Regions from separate parts of the Homo sapiens genome. Here region 2 is linked to region 1. The links are contacts of gene promoters, found by promoter capture Hi-C in human tissues and cell types (Jung and others, 2019). All regions are on one chromosome and are shown on one strand. Each heading gives the region's core, a stretch centred on a gene start or on the middle of the fragment in contact. The rest is flanking DNA. Distances are from core to core; before and after follow the strand shown.

Evidence for each region. Contacts are between HindIII fragments. The study calls those that stand out against the background at their distance.
Region 2: a contact is called between a fragment that was not itself captured here and the fragment with the promoter of PRPH2 in region 1, in 2 of the 25 tissues and cell types used here (pancreas and spleen).

The regions. Positions count from the first base shown.
Region 1 is chr6:42,721,097-42,724,030 of GRCh38, reverse strand. It overlaps PRPH2 (peripherin 2), which reads left to right and starts at 1,434. Exons shown (of 3, transcript NM_000322.5): 1 at 1,434-2,277. The coding sequence starts at 1,697. The HindIII fragment of the contact is 25,287 bases long and covers 1-2,934 here.
Region 2 is chr6:42,785,111-42,788,044 of GRCh38, reverse strand. All of the region lies in intron 1 of BICRAL (BICRA like chromatin remodeling complex associated protein), which reads right to left. It overlaps LOC401261 (a long non-coding RNA gene), which reads right to left. Exons shown (of 2, transcript NR_134654.1): 1 at 2,714-2,934. Among named protein-coding and RNA genes, the nearest start is that of BICRAL, 4.5 kb to the right of the region's middle. The HindIII fragment of the contact is 4,014 bases long and covers 1-2,934 here.

The sequences.
Region 1 (2,934 bases), core at 185-2,684:
GAGTTTGGTCTTTTTCTTTTTTTGAGACGTCATTTCACTCTTGTCACCCAGGCTGGAGTGCAATGGCGCAATCTTGGCTCACTGCAACCTCCACTTCCCGGGTTCAATTGATGCTCCTTCCTCAGCCTCACAAGTAACTGGGATTACAGGTGCCTGTCACCATACCCAGACAATTTTTGTATTTTTAGTAGAGACAGGGTTTCACCATGTTGGCCAGGCTGGTCTTGAATGCCTGACCTCAAGTGATCCACCCACCTTGGCCTTCCAAACTGCTGGGATTACAGGTGTGAACCACTGTGCCCGGCCAAGTTTGGTATTTTATTGTTGTTTGGATTTGCATTTTCCTGCTTATTACCCAAGTTGAGATCTTTTCCAGATTATTGGACTTTTCAAGTTTCCTAATTATGAATTGTCTGTTCCTGGTTTTTGCCTATTTTTCCAGTTGATTATTGGTCTTTTGATTGTGAATTTTTGTTTATTGTGAATTTGTGAGACTTAAAACATTTTTGCATATTAATTCTTTTTTTTTTTTTTCCAGACAGAGTCTCACTGTCACCCAGGCTGGAGTGCAATGTGGGGATCTCAGTTCAGTGCAACCTCCACCTCCTGGGCTCAAGCGATCCACCTGCCTTGGCCTCCCAAAGTACTGGGATTACAGGCATAAGCCACCATGCCTGGCCACTGTATATTACTTTTTAATTTTACAAGTTGCAAATGTTTTCTCACGATCTGTCACTTTCTTTCTTTCCTTCCTTCTTCTCTTCTTTTCTTTGTCTTTTTAAAATTTGAGACAGGGCCTCACTCTGTCACCCAGGCTGGAGTGCAGTGGCACGATCATGGCTCAGTGCAGCCTTGAACTCCCCAGGCTCAGGTGATCTTGCCACCTCAGCCTCCAGAGTAGCTGGGAGAACTACAGGTGCATGCCACCATACCCAGCTAATTTTTTTTTTTTTTTTTTTGTGTGTGTGTGTGTGTGTGTGGAGATGGGGTCTTCCTATGTAGCCCAGGCTGGTCTTGAACTCCTGGGCTCAAGTGATCCACCCAACTTGGTCTCCCAAAGTGCTGGGATTATAGGCGTGATCCACTGTGCCTGGCCCTGTCATTTCTTTTCTCAGAGAGGATAACAATTTATTTGTCCTACAGAAAGTTTTAAATGTTGAAGGAGATTGGCCTGGAAATATGCTTTTGGGGAGCAACACGGTCTGAGCCAGACATCCAGATACAGCCCATTCTTCTGGCCAGTCTTGCCCTTTGCTCCTGATTCTCCAAGCTGTACCCAGAGCTTTCTGGTTCAGCATGTACCTGGAGGCTGCTTTTGACCATGTTTTGAGAGTGGCATGGCTTTATCTAATGGGATGAACCTGGCTAAAGAGATTAGCAAAATGTCTTGTGGATCCCACTTTTAATCTGCAGCGTTCAGGCTGCCCCTTCTTGGCTGGGAAGGGCGCTGAAGAAACAACGCCCAGGACCAGGACTATCCCCTGCTCAAGCTGTGATTCCGAGACCCCTGCCACCACTACTGCATTCACGGGGATCCCAGGCTAGTGGGACTCGACATGGGTAGCCCCCAGGGCAGCTCCCTACAGCTTGGGCCATCTGCACTTTTCCCAAGGCCCTAAGTCTCCGCCTCTGGGCTCGTTAAGGTTTGGGGTGGGAGCTGTGCTGTGGGAAGCAACCCGGACTACACTTGGCAAGCATGGCGCTACTGAAAGTCAAGTTTGACCAGAAGAAGCGGGTCAAGTTGGCCCAAGGGCTCTGGCTCATGAACTGGTTCTCCGTGTTGGCTGGCATCATCATCTTCAGCCTAGGACTGTTCCTGAAGATTGAACTCCGAAAGAGGAGCGATGTGATGAATAATTCTGAGAGCCATTTTGTGCCCAACTCATTGATAGGGATGGGGGTGCTATCCTGTGTCTTCAACTCGCTGGCTGGGAAGATCTGCTACGACGCCCTGGACCCAGCCAAGTATGCCAGATGGAAGCCCTGGCTGAAGCCGTACCTGGCTATCTGTGTTCTCTTCAACATCATCCTCTTCCTTGTGGCTCTCTGCTGCTTTCTGCTTCGGGGCTCGCTGGAGAACACCCTGGGCCAAGGGCTCAAGAACGGCATGAAGTACTACCGGGACACAGACACCCCTGGCAGGTGTTTCATGAAGAAGACCATCGACATGCTGCAGATCGAGTTCAAATGCTGCGGCAACAACGGTTTTCGGGACTGGTTTGAGATTCAGTGGATCAGCAATCGCTACCTGGACTTTTCCTCCAAAGAAGTCAAAGAGTGAGTGGCTTCCAGTCCTGGGGTCAGAGCTATGAATATATTGGGGACACTGAGGCTCAGGCCTCTGACCAGCCCCTCTCCCCGCACCCAGTGCCTTTTCCTCTCCATCGGGTGCACAACTTATTGCTGCGTATGTGAGGGTGTATCAGGTGGAACCATATGAAATTGCTAATATTCTACCTCTTTGACCCATAAAAAATGACAACTTCATAGGGTTCAACCTAACATTGGCTAAGGTGGTAGGAAGGTATCAATTTATATAAGCTGTTTGGATAGGAGCCCCTTGGGATGAAGAGCCAGGCAGCAATGTGTGTCCACTTTATACAGAGGGATGGAAGTCATTCATAGATCACAAACACTGAGGTACTATTTGGCTATTTGTCCCATTCATTCAAAGTAGATGGATTCAGTCCCAGAAGTTTAAATTTCCTAGTTAGTTCCCTTGTTTTCCAACCTTTCAACCCTGAGCATCCATTCCCAAGATGTTTGTCTGGATATGTTGGAAAGAGCATAGGAAGGGGAAGTCATGAGATCTAGGGTGAAGTTTTGGTTCTGTTGTTCAAGGTCTTGTGACCTTGGGCAGGTCACTAGTCACTCTGCGCTTTGGCTTGCCCATCTTTTAAATGAGCACTGGAATAGAATAGGTAATTTTGGAAG
Region 2 (2,934 bases), core at 124-2,623, 64 kb before region 1:
CACACCTGTGGTCCCAGCTACTCAGGAGAGGCTGAGGTAGGAGGATCACTTGAGCCCAGTAGGTTGAGTCTGTGGTAAGCCGTAATTTGCACCATTGCACTCCAACCTGGATGACTGAGTGACATCTTGTCTTAAAAAAAAATTAAAAAAAAAAAAAAGCCCTCTTCTTTGACCCCATCTCCCTCTGAAGCCACTAAGCTGCTTCTCTCCACTTTACAGCAGCAAAATTTCCCTAACGAGCTGTCGATATTCACCTCACTTCCTATTCTCTCTTCGAAGCATCCCAATGTGGCTTGGACCACTTGTCAAAACAGTCACCATCATGTTGTCAAATCCAAATAGACATTTCTCTATTCTCATTGTGTAACTTCTCAGCAGCATTTGACAGAGGTGACCATTCCCTCTTTCTTGAAAATAATAAAATACTCTCCCACTTTAATGGCTGAACCTTTTCAGTCTCCTTTGCCCAAGCTTTAGCCGTTGTTAGTGTTTTAGGGCTTTTTTTTTTCCCCACACAGAGCTGGCTGTGTGGGAGACCAGAGTTTTATTACTCCAGTCTCGCAGGGCTTGATCTTAAGGCCACAAACAATCTCAATCAGTTCCATGACATGCCATCTGTATACTAGTGACTCCCAAAATTTATGTCCAGTCTAGATCACTCCCCTCAGCTCAACTTAAATATTCAGTGCCTACTTAACTCTCCGCTTGGATGCCTCCCAAGTATTTACACAGAACTCTTGCTACCCACTCCTCTCCACCTGTTCCTCCTCCAGTCTTCTCCAACCAGCAAATGGTACCATCAGCAGCCCAAGGCTGGAGCCTGCAACCTGAAGGCACCCTTGATTCCTCCCTCTCCCTCCACAGCCAACCCATTAAGCAAATCCTTCTGATTCCACCTCCAAAATACATATGTAAAAGTTGCTGTCTACTCTGCTGTATCTCATTGCCACTTTACTTGCCTGAGATACTATCGATCTTGGGCTGACTACAATAGCCTCCTAACTTCCCTGTTTCCTCTCTTCCTCTAAATAGCCAGTTATTTTTAAAAACATTATCACTGCCCAAATTAAAACCCCTCTCATTGCCATTAGAATTAAATCCAAAAATCCCCCTATGGAGTAATACAAGACGACCTATAGGATCTCTCCAACTCCATCTCATTCCTACCCTATTCATAATTTCTCCCCTTGCTCAGAGGAGCCTTCTCTCCAGTCTAACAACCAGCCTTCCAGGTCTTTGAACTTGTTCCCAGGTCTGAAATGTCTCCCCAGCTTTTCACATGGCTAGCACAAGTTCATGTTTCACGTCTCAGCTCAAATATCACCTCTATGAAAAGACTTTCTTTGACCCTTACTAGCCAAAATGGTCATTCCCAACATACTCTTTTAGATCCACCAGCCACTTAATATTTTTTCTTAATCTGTCATTATCTTGATTTTTTAACTATTTTCTGTCCTTCCCCACTATACTGTAAATTTCATGAGTGCAGAGATCTTGCCGGTCTTAAAATTCCAACAAGGTTAAAGAAGCTACTGTTTCCCTCTAAGCAGTTTTAGATTTCCCCCTCCTTTCAAGCTTTATTGGATTTTAGTCTAGTCAAAGATTATAATTACTTTGGCATTTACCATAAAAAACAAGGGGAGAAAAACCAGAAGTGACTTCCCTTCAAAAACTGGAAGTCACTCCACCCACCTAGTGGTCTAGACTGGACACAGACTGCACAGAGGTATCCAACAAATGCTCCTTACAAAAACTTTCCAATGTGGACATATGCAAAGATGGTATAATTCTGACATCTGCATCAAAAATCTAAGTTTTAAACTACTCTCCCTAGCAATTACTAAACACAACGATTTGAGAAGAATCAACAAGAGAAAGCACAAAATAAAATCCATGATCCTTAATCCAGAGAAATTAATGATTTCATCACTGACTTGGTTCTTTCTCATTTTAGTAAGGTCATCTATTCATCACCTGCTCTAGATGCTTCTTCCTGACCTGTGTTTTTTGTCTCCAGGCTGGAGTGCAGTGGCGCGATCTCAGCTCACTACAACCTCCGTCTCCCAGGTTCAAACCATTCTCCTGTCTCAGCCTCCTGAGTAGCTGAGATTACAGGCATGTGCCCACCAAGCCCGGCTAATTTTTGTATTTTTAGTAGAAACGGGGTTTCACCACGTTGGTCAGGCTGGTCTCGAACTCCTGACCTCGTGATCCGCCCACCTCGGCCTCCCGAAGTGCTGGGATTACAGGTGTGAGCCACTGTGCCTGGCCCTGACCTGTGTTTTTATCCATATTCTGCTATTAGGTTCCACATAACTTGACTATCCTACTTCCCAAAACCCAGAAGATATGTCCACAATTCAAAATTCAGGAAACAACCTTTTCTTTTAAGGATTTATCTTCAGGTCTTTATATCAGGGTCTTTTCTACCCTATTCTCAATTTCTGGATCAATCCTGGATTCAATTCTTTTTTTTTTTTTTGAGATGGGAGTTTCGTTCTTGTTTCCCGGACTGGAGTGCAATGGTGGGGTCTCGGGCCACTGCAACCTCTGCCTCCCCAGTTCAAGTGATTCTCTCGCCTCAGCCTCCCAAGTAGCTGGGATTACAGGCACCTGCCACCACACTCGGCTAGCTTTTTTGTATTTTTAGTACAGACGGGGTTTCACCACGTTGGACAGGCTGGTCTCTAACTCCTGACTTCAGGTAATCCGCCCGCCTCAGCCTCAAAAGTGCTGGGATTACAGGCATGAGCCACCGTGCCAGGCCTCAAGGCTACGTTTGTTACACAGCTGTCTTGACTAAACTAGATGGCCTGGCTAGACCTAGAAGCCTGTATGTTGTATAACTTCTCAATAGAATGAGACAACATACTTTAAAAAAAAACGTACTGAGATTTTAAAGTCTTAGGATACCTAAACCTTTTTCTCTGAGGA